3 separate regions of the Homo sapiens genome follow, and all the other regions are linked to region 1. The links are contacts of gene promoters, found by promoter capture Hi-C in human tissues and cell types (Jung and others, 2019). All regions are on one chromosome and are shown on one strand. The core of a region is centred on a gene start or on the middle of the fragment in contact, and the rest is flanking DNA. Distances in the headings are between cores, read along the strand shown. Region 1 holds the start of STARD5 (StAR related lipid transfer domain containing 5). Region 2 has its middle 12 kb from the start of LINC01583. Region 3 overlaps EFL1 (elongation factor like GTPase 1).

Region 1 (3,138 bases), core at 342-2,841:
GAAAAGGAATTTGACCCCAACGCATCAATCAAACTTGTTATCTTGAGATTGTATCTAAGGACTAGAAGGTGGACCATGCCATGTCTGTCACTACTCTTTAGGACAGACTTGCAGAGAAGGGGCTGAAAGTCACTAGCCCCGCCTCCCTTCAGGCCTGCAGAAATGGACAGTAAGCTTTCACAAGAATACAGTTTGCTGGAAATGATTTCATTAAAAACAGTAAGGCTTTTCTGGAGGACAAGTGATCACAGGTTATAGGGTTGATTTGAATATTTTAGGAGGCAGGCCCATAAAGATACCAGGAAGGGTGCGGCACCTCTGGTAATCTTTGAACGAGGCATGCACTTACAGGTTCCCTGGAAACTCCACAGATGGCCTCCAGGAAACTGAAACTCCATTCTGTCAAAAGGCACAGAACCACAGAATTTTAGAGCTAGAAGGGCTCTGGTCACCTGGCTTAATCCCCTGTTCTACAGAAGAGGGGTAAGAGGCCTCAAGAGATACGACTCTCCAAGGCTGTGCAACCCATACGTGGAAAAGCTGGGACTAGTCTTGGGCAAAGCTGTCCCCACAGCAGAATGTGATGAAGAAAAAGATCTTAACTGGCTGACTCCAAGAGCCGTGGGTGGTTTTTAAAATTATCTTAAAAGCCACCAGGCATTCTGTTTCCTTGAGCAACCCAGGGCTACTTAATGAAAAGTCAGAAGGGTCAAGCAAAACTACTCCCATGCTACCCTCTGGCAACGACAAAGAGAGGGGTTCATGCTGTAATGAAAAGTCAGAAGGGTCAAGCAAAACTACTCCCATGCTACCCTCTGGCAACGACAAAGAGAGGGGTTCATGCTGTAATGAAAAGTCAGAAGGGTCAAGCAAAACTACTCCCATGTTACCCTCTGGCAACGACAAAGAGAGGGGTTCATGCTGTAATGAAAAGTCAGAAGGGTCAAGCAAAACTACTCCCATGCTACCCTCTGGCAACGACAAAGAGAGGGGTTCATGCTGTAATGAACACAGAAGAAAACCTTAGTATGCATCAGATGCTGGATCAGACTTTACTGGATTTAAACAACATGTAAAAACCTCCTTAGCTGCGACCACATTCTTTCATTTTGTTTTGTTTTTAAACACCTGCTTACCCCTTAAATGCAATTTATTTACTTTTACCACTGTCACAGAAACATCCAGTCCTAAACAGCATTCAACAGCCAGGTGACCTTGGGCAAGTCACTGAGTGAAAGGAACAGATACTTACCACCTGAAGTCATTGTGAGCATAACAGGCCCAATCTTTTTTTTAAAGAAGAAAACAATCCCCATTGGAATCCCTCTCAATCGGGTCCAGGGGATTGGGGAGCAGAAAACAACGGGGAGAGGAGGCGCTTGGGGGCTTCTGGGGACCCGGGCTCCACGAAGCCGTCTCCGCGACCCCTTCCCGCCCAGCTCCTCACTCACGCCTTCCCGGCAAATCTTCCAGCCTGCTGTGTCCCGCCGGTACTGGAGCATCTTCTCGGCCACAGCCTCGCTCATCTGGGCTGCCAGCGCCGGGTCCATTGCGTCGGGAGCTGCGCTTAGCTGCGGGGTCGCGGGTGTTATGAGCGGCGGCGCTGGATCCCGGGTGCCTGGAGGCTGGAGCTCTGGGAGGAGCTCGTAGCCCCGCCTCTTTCCGCGCCCCCGCTCCCGAATTGGTCCAGGCCCTCAGACGGATCCCGCCTCCCGGAGATTGGCAGGACAAGGAGACCGCGGGGCCAGGCTCTCCAGTTAGCGTCAGCGCCTGGGCGGGTCCCGGACGCCTTGGGCGGGCCGGGTAAGGTCCAGCCGTATCCGCCTCCTTCATGTCCCGCTGTGGGAGGGGCTCTGGAGCGCCGGGACTGTGAGATGGCCAATGACGGTCTGACCCGTTGGGCCGGGCCAGGTCGCGGACAACGTCGACCGTTTGTTTAAGAAGCGTGGACTCTTGTCCTGAGTGCACCGAGGCTTTCAGCCTGCGGGACAGTGGTGCGATTTGCATTAGAGGTAATATGCTAGGGCGGCTGCTGCAGGGTGGGAGAGGAAATGCGCGTGGAGACTGGGCGCGTGCAATGGTGGGAGAGGTGTGTGGCAGGGGTGCGGGGAGTGGGGGTGAAGAGAAGAGGACCCATCGTAGAGTGTTTAGGAGATGGAAGGTGAAGGTCTCTGCCCCCGATTGTGGATGTTCAGAAGGAGAAAGCATCATGACTCCCAGCCTTGGCCACCTGGCAGCTTACCTGAGATGGAGAAGAGATAGGGTGAGTTCAGTTCTGGGCATATTTAGTTGGAGGTGCCTGAAGGGCCTTTAGTGCAGGTGTCCAGGAGTCAATGCAATGCGCTGACATCTGCGAGAGGCCCGGCTTTATTAGAGATATGGGAGTTCTCTGCTTCCAGCTGCCCTGGAGCTGCGGGGAGTGAGCCAGGGTCGCATCTTCACAGCGTGAATGGCAAGGACAGCCTCGGTTTCCCCTCTTCTGCGCTATCACCAACTAAATATTTGAAAAGGTTAATACTGAGGTCTATTTCTTATCTTTCTTTTTTATGTACTTATTGTTTCCTTTAAACTTTCGATATAAATGTTTGGAAGAGTAGTGTAAACAAATTGACAACTTGAAAGACCTTTTTGGAAGATGTGAAGGGCAGCCAGGCTGTGAAGAAGACCTGGATGGGGAATTAGGGAGCTCAAGATCTAAACCCAGTTTCACTCATTATTCTTTGAGCTTCAGTTTACTCCAAGGTGAAATGGGATACATCATAAATGTTCCTGGCGGGGTCCGGTGGCTCACGCCTGTAATCCCAGCACTTTGGGAGGCTGAGGCAGGAGATCACTTGAACCTAGGAGTTCGAGACCAGCCTGAGCAGCATGGCGAGACTCCGTCTCTACTAAAAATTCAAAAATTAGCCGGGCATGGTGGCGCGGGGCTGTAATCCCAGCTACTTGGGGGGGCTGAGGTGGGAGGATCGCTTCAACCCGGGAGGCAGAGGCAGCAGTGAACCGTGATCGCGCCACTGCACTCCAGCCTGGGCTGCAGAGCAAGATCCTGTCTCAAAAAGTAATAAAAATAAACAAACAAACAAATAAATGTTCCCTATGCCCTTGTGAAGAGAGAGGGAAGTAACGCATGTAAATACT
Region 2 (3,591 bases), core at 221-2,720, 750 kb after region 1:
CCTCTGTTCCATGCTAAAATCAGCTCTTCCTTACCAAAGGCAATTATCAAATTTTTTTTTTTTTTTTTTTTTTTTTGAGACAGAATCTCACTGTTTCCCAGGCTGAAGTACAGTGGTGCTATCTTGGCGCACTGCAGTCTCGACCTCCCAGGCTCAAGTGATCCTCCCACCTCAGTCTCTGAGTAGCTGGAACTATAGGCATGCACCACCACACCCGGCTAATTTTTTTGTAGAGTTTTGCCATATTGCCCAGGCTGGTCTTGAACTCTTGAGTTCAAGCAATCCTCCCACCTTGGCCTTCCAAAATGATGGGATTAAAGGTGTGAGCTACTGTGCCTGGCCTTTTTCACTCTTATAAAATATAAATTAAATACCAGAGTCTTTTCATTTTTAGAACCGTGGGGACAGTCGAGTGCCCAGAAGTGCAATTGTTAATTTATTTGTGCTACCACTATCCCACATCTATGGAATATTGTTTTGATTGAGTTCCTCTGGCCCCATGGGACACTAGAAGCAGTTTGTGGGGAGAAAGGGAACACTGCCTTTTGATTTCCCAGTGTACGTGCCCAAATGGAAGCACAGAGTTTCAAAGGCTGGCTTCTCTGCTTGCCAACTGCGTGGTGCTGGACCAGCATCTCAGTGTCCAAGTCAGCCATGCTGAGGCTCCCATCTCACCAGGTTGTTGCGAGGACTCAGTGTGACATGGCCCGTTCCATACCCAGCCCATGGCAGAGCTTCACACGCGCAGCAGAGACTATCCTGGGCATCCAGAGCAAACACTGCACGCGTGGTTTCTGGGTGTGCTGGCCCCTGGAGAAGGGCTCAGGGCTGGGAGGACTCAAGGATATCTTCAGCCCACGCAGAGAGGGAGTGTGATTAGCTAAAGTGCTTTTCTGGCTTCCATGCAGCAGGTAGCAGGTTCTTATCTCCAACTCCTGAGTAGAGTTGCACAAAAAACTCCAGTCTAACCAGCCAGCTCTTACCCATTAGTTCCTGAAAAGTCCCTGCTTCTCCCCAGCCACAGGAAAGAGACAATTTTGGGAGGAAAATCTTTCAGCTGCCTGAAAGAGTTCAACCCTCTTTGAGGCAGCTGTTCTCATGTCTGCAGGTTGACTTCCGCATCTCACCTAGGGCGCACAGATGTTTGCACAGTTGCCAGAGTTCATTTACTATTATATCTACACATAAACATTATCCCATGTTATGACATGGTTGTCACATGTGCCAGTGTTGGTGGTAGCATACTACTTCTCTGAATAGCTTTATCATTGTTGTCTTAACATTTCCCTACTGTTGAACATTAGATTGGGTTTTTTTAGTGTCAAATGCAACACAGTGATACTATCTTTGTGCCCGTAGCCTTTTTATTCTGCTGAACTATTTCTTTCCTTTGGATGGACTCTAAGGAGTACTGCAGTGAGATCAGGCAGGGGGTGTCCCCCTGGCCCTCCTTGGGCTGCGTCCCTCCCACCTGGTGAGGAGTCTGCAGGCCAAGGGAACATGCCCATTGCAAATCCACGTCCTCCCTTTTAGACCATTCTCCAGGTGCCTAGGACTCCCAGAAGTCCCTGCCCACTGGCCCCATGCTCATCTCCAGGGCCTGCCCAGCCCTGGTCCCTGAGTCTCTCCTCCTGAGATCCAATCACACCACCAGTAGACACACCCGGATCTGAGGAGTGGCCACAGGCAGGGGGTAGTGAACAGAGTTTGGACGCATGGGCTAGGCTGTCCACTCACATTCACATGAGGCCCCCTCAGTGCTGGACAGACTTAGGAATTGGAAAGACAGTGGGTCTGGGGGCTAGCAACTGGCTCTCCCCATGCCGTCATGTTCCAACACAGGATGCAGAGGCATCTGAGAATTTTTAACTTGAGCCCTTCCAGGTGGTGGTGACAGTATATTTGCCAAGGCAGGAGGCTAGAACATATTTTCATTTAACAGTTTGTAACCTGATTTCTAACTTTAAACTACTTATACATATGGTATGTGAGGCTCCATTTATACCCTTGCCTGGAACCCTGCAAATCATTAAGAGGAGGTCTGGGCGAAAGGTTGTGACCATTTCTGCAGTCTCTTGCTGTGTCTATATTGCTACGTTGCTTTTCCAAATAGCTGTACTGGTTTACAGTTTATGAATGTACCGGTTTCAGCACACTCTGTCAGGCACTGGGGATCACAGTTGTTGCCGATTCAGTAGGTGTGAAATCATTTGCCAACATTGTTTGACTCTGCATTTCTTTGATCACCTGCAAGAATAATAAAAGCTACTTTTATTGAGCTCTTACTATGTATCAGGCAATCAGGCACTATGATAAGGCACTTTGCCAGTATTTTCTCATTTACTCTTCCCAGGAACCCCTTGAAGTATATATAATTAGGATTCCTATTTTAGAGATTGGAACACAGAGCTTGAAGGAATAAAGAAATTTGCCCAACATTGCAGTTAGCAATTGGGGCAGCCAGGATGAGAAACCAGGTACGTCCGACTCCAAAATCTGTGATTTTCAGTTATGTTACACATGTCTTGCATGTATCTATGTCCTAAATGTACTTACTTTTTGGTGATTGACTTTTTAAAAATTATTTTAAACTTTTAATTTTGGAATAATTTTAGATTTACAGAAGAGTTACAAAGATGGCATATATGATTCTTGTATACCCTTTATCCAGCATTGCCTACTAGTAACATCTTACACAATCATGGTACATTTGTCAAAACTAAGAAATTGTTATTGATATAATACGCCTGGGTGTGGTGGCACATGGCTGTAATCTCAGCACTTTGGGAGGCCGAGGTGGGCAGATCACAAGGTCAGGAGTTCCAGACCAGCCTGGCCATCATGGTGAAACACCGTCTCTGCTAAAAATCCAAAAATTGCCTGGGCGTGGTGGCAGGCGCCTGTAGTCCCAGCTACTCAGCAGGCTGAGGCAGGAGAATCGCTTGAACCTGGGAGGCGGAGGTTGCGGTAAGCCGAGATCACACCACTGACTCTAGCCTGGGCGACAGAGCAAGACTCCATCTCAAAAAAAAAAAAAAAAAAAAAAAAGCCTCAGACCATTTTAAACAAAACAAAGAGGGTCTCAAAATTCTCACCAACTAAAGTCACCCAGTCCCATTAGTATTCAGATCTAGCTCCAAAGTCATCCCAGCTGATCAGCACTCAGAGCCTCACTAGCTATAAATTCATTCACAACATTGACCACGTGAAATTGGTTCGCAAATTTTCATCTCAGAAACTGCATTGCACTCCTGAGTGACAGTCGCAAAGTTCCACTTCTCCAGCAGGAGACCCTCAACAACGCTCTACCGCCTTGAACCTGTGAGGGAAACTGTCTTCCCACACTATTCCCCTGAGCAAGCACAGAAAACAGAAAGCCAGGGAAGAAAGGGAAGAACCAGTCTAGGAGCATCTGGGCATCTGGATGGAAAGGGAACCCGAAGCCCCAAGAGAGCAAAGGAACTCCTCTGAAGTGAAAAGACTACACAAGGACCCATCTTCTATCTGGTCATCAAATACACGTCCACCTTCAGTGTCCAGCAGGAACGACAGACCGAACCCTTACTTCCCTTACCTGATGTCATGCTCACC
Region 3 (3,575 bases), core at 475-2,974, 850 kb after region 1:
TACCATTTTCAATATGAATGGGGTTTTATACTACAGTAGTTATGGGTTTTAATTTTATGTTATAAAAACACAGTATTGGCCGGGTGCAGTGGCTCACGCATGTAATCCCAGCACTTTGGGAGTCATGAGTTAAAAGACCAGCCTGGCCAACATGGCAAAACCCCGTCTCTACTAAAAATACAAAAATTAGCCGGCAAGGTGGCAGGCACCTGTAATCCCAGCTACTCGGAAGGCTGAGGTGGGAGAATTGCTTGAACCCAGGAGGTTCAAGACCTGGGCAACAGAGCAAGACTACATCTTAAAAACTGAATTTTGAAGATTACTTAGAAATAAAGTAGAATATGTAATTCAATGTAAATAGGATGATATAAAAATAGAATAATAATAACTAAAATACAAACTGTAGGAATGCTAGTATTGAGATTACAAGTAATCTTTTAAAACCAAAAAATTATAATTTTTACCAGGAAAAGTTATTAGACACAAGCTACTATAATTTTTGAATTAAAGAGCTGCCATTATTGAAGATGTAAACTACACAAACTGATATTTGGCAATGGTGACACTGCAGTACAGTGGGGATGTGATAATGGTTCTAAGTCAACCAGATACCTGATTGAAAAAAATAATTGACATTGACTCCCACCTGACCTCTGTTACAAAAACCAATGTCAGACGGATTGCAGATCTAAATACAATAAGTAAAACAAAAAAAAGCTTATGGAATAACAACATAGAATATCACCATGACTTTGGAATAAGCAGATTTCTTAAACAAGACACAAAAAGCGTTAGTCGTAAAAGAAAAAATTGAAAAATATTAGATTATATTAAAACTAAGAACTTCCGTTTATCAAGAGACATCATTAGATGGCAGAAAGATAACTCGCAAAGGAGAAAATATTTGCAATACATATACCCATCCAGGGACTTTTATGCAGAATATATAAAGAATGCCTATAAATCAATACAAAAAAGGCAGAGAATCTATAAGTGGGTAAAGACTTAACAGGCATCCCACAAATCAGTAAACAACAATGGTCAATATATAAATGAAAAGGACCTTTCACTTCTCTAGTCACCAGCAAAATCTACGTAATATACTACCCCATACACACAAAAATGACTCGAATGAAAGCAAAAACAAGTATGGACAAAGATACAGAGCAACTGGAACTTTCAGATACCCCTGGTGGAAGCATAAAGTGGTACATTGACTAAGCTTGAGCATATGCCTACTCTATGACCCAATAATTTCTCTTCCATCAGAAAGCAGACACATTAACCAAAAGACATGTATAAGAATATTCAAAGTGACAATATTCATAATAGTCAAATACTGGAAATTACTTAAATATCCACCAACAGAAGAGTGGATAAATAAACTGGTAGTCACACAACACAGTAACATGAATGAGCAAATCACAACCATGTGCCATGACATGGATGAACCTCATAAACAGAATGCTAAATGAAAAATGCCCAATGCAAGAGCACATTCTATATATAAAGCTTAAAATCAGGTAAATCTAATAGGGTGAAGGGGTGCGGTGGCAGTAATTCGAAAGGAGCTTGGCTTCTGGGATGTTTGTAAGGTTCTGTTTCTGGGTCTGGGTACTAGTTACACTGGCATATGTTCAGTTTATGAAAATTCATCAAGCTGTGCATTTAAGATTTGCATACTTTTCTATGTGCATCTTATGCATCAATAAGTATACTTAAAATGTTATTTGACACAAATTACATGGGTATTTTAAGTGTTTCTGAGTCTTTTAGAGATGCTAATAACTGCAACTAATAAAAATAAACCATTTCAGAACCTTTAAAAAAGAACTGGCAGCAAAGGGGAGAGCACATGGTTCATCTCCTTGTATCTTTTTTCTCCACATCCTCTAATGACTAATAAAATGTGGCTTTCATTGCGAAGTCTTTACACTGATTCTCCTGGCCAGGTCTGTCCTCAACCAAATCACTTCCTTATTCAAGTGCGTGTAAACAGCCTCCTCCTGGCTGCATACTTCTGTCTACCCTCTGGCTCCTGACATTGTGGTTCACATGAAGTTTTTGGTCTTTTAAATACCCATTGGAAGACGCTCAAAAAGGCTCAGAAAACTGTTCCTTGATTTTGGTCTGCTTCATTTTTTGGGAAAGCAAAACAAGTCCCAGCACCACATGCTTCTCTACTGCTGCCTTTATTTATTTATTAAAAAACATCCAACACACTACCCAAAGAATTTTCAAGTGTCTCCTTCCACTTTTACCATCTACCACTGCCAAAATCTAACCACTAGCAGAGTAAAATAATCTCAGCTCACATCATGGGAAATATTTCTTTGGCTCTGAGAAAACCAGAGAGAAAGTGCTGCAAAATGTAGGTTAGGAAAATAATGTGAAAGTTATTTCAAGTTGATGATTTCCATAGTATGGAATGTGATGGTCTTGCATATGTGACTCTCTGAATAAAGACCCCAAAAATACTGTGAGGTAAGATTGTCATTTTTAATTGGCCCCAAATAGAAGAGTCATAAGGGATTTTCAGGGGAAGCCCCTTTACTCTATCAGGGATACTCAGGTGTCTTTTCTCAATAAGCATTCTTTAGATTTATCAGCAACAAACTAAAGAATTCCACTGTAATACAAAGCTAACATGCTGACAGAGCATCTTTGAAGAAGCTTTCACAAGACAGACTAATGTAAACAATTTTTTCAAGGCTTCCCAGCCTATGACTACCAGTGAAGTCTGATTAATAATAACCACCAAATCACACTGGCTCTCTGTCCACACCAGTTCATACGGGGCCTTATTTGGAATGTGTCTATCAACTAATCTGGGCATCCTAGTGGAAATTCCTCATGGGCCCACGAGCTCACACTTGCCATAGATACATGAACACTAGGGTTGTCAGGGTGCCCAAACTCTGCAGTAGTTTCTGGAGTAGTGGAAATGCTCCTTCCTTGTGCTTCACTCTCTTAGAGGGAAAAAGGCATTGTGGTGACCCAATGTCTTACAGAGGTCAGTTCTTCAGGTTTTACTCTTGCCTTCCAAAGGTCTCAATCAGCGGAGCAATAGGGCTGGGCCAAAAGGCAAATCAAGTGACAGGCAGCACATCATTCCTCCCTCTTGAGACTAAGGCTTGACTACTGGATTACCCTGTCATGCCTGGTTTCTTCTCCCTTAGGAGGAATTTCATTCCAGGAGGTATCCCAATCACTTTCAAGAGCTCATTCTACCAATTCTCTGGACATGCCCCTCCTCTGAACCCTAGAAAATAACACAGTCTATACTGAAGCTAATCCTTGGTACTTAACTGTTTGCATTACTATTCTCCATAAAGAAAATGGGCTTAGCATGGTGGCTCACACCTATAATCCCAGAATTTTGGGAGGCTGAGGAAGGAGGCCCAGGAGTTCAAGACCAGCCTGGGAAACATAGCAAGACTCTGTCTCAAAACAAATAAAAAATAAAAAAATAAAAATTACCCAGGCATGGTGGCACACGCCTGTAGTCCCAGCTACTTAGGAGACTGAGGCAGGAGGATTACTTGAGCCCAGAAGTTCGAGGTTACAGTAAACTA

Evidence for each region. The method cuts DNA at HindIII sites, captures the fragments that hold promoters and counts their contacts. A contact is called where the count stands out against the background at its distance.
Region 2: a fragment that was not itself captured here is called in contact with the fragment with the promoter of STARD5 in region 1 in 1 of the 25 tissues and cell types used here (hippocampus).
Region 3: a contact is called between a fragment that was not itself captured here and the fragment with the promoter of STARD5 in region 1, in 1 of the 25 tissues and cell types used here (dorsolateral prefrontal cortex).

What each region holds. Positions count from the first base shown.
Region 1 is chr15:81,322,550-81,325,687 of GRCh38, forward strand. STARD5 (StAR related lipid transfer domain containing 5) reads right to left here and starts at 1,592. Exons shown (of 6, transcript NM_181900.3): 1 at 1,452-1,592; 2 at 350-399. The coding sequence starts at 1,550. TMC3-AS1 (TMC3 antisense RNA 1) reads left to right here and starts at 1,784. Exons shown (of 7, transcript NR_120365.1): 1 at 1,784-2,012. RefSeq lists a silencer at 2,084-2,133. The HindIII fragment of the contact is 12,739 bases long and covers 1-3,138 here.
Region 2 is chr15:82,074,930-82,078,520 of GRCh38, forward strand. No RefSeq gene overlaps it. Among named protein-coding and RNA genes, the nearest start is that of LINC01583, 12 kb to the right of the region's middle. The HindIII fragment of the contact is 5,623 bases long and covers 1-3,591 here.
Region 3 is chr15:82,175,519-82,179,093 of GRCh38, forward strand. All of the region lies in intron 15 of EFL1 (elongation factor like GTPase 1), which reads right to left. Among named protein-coding and RNA genes, the nearest start is that of EFL1, 85 kb to the right of the region's middle. The HindIII fragment of the contact is 3,059 bases long and covers 196-3,254 here.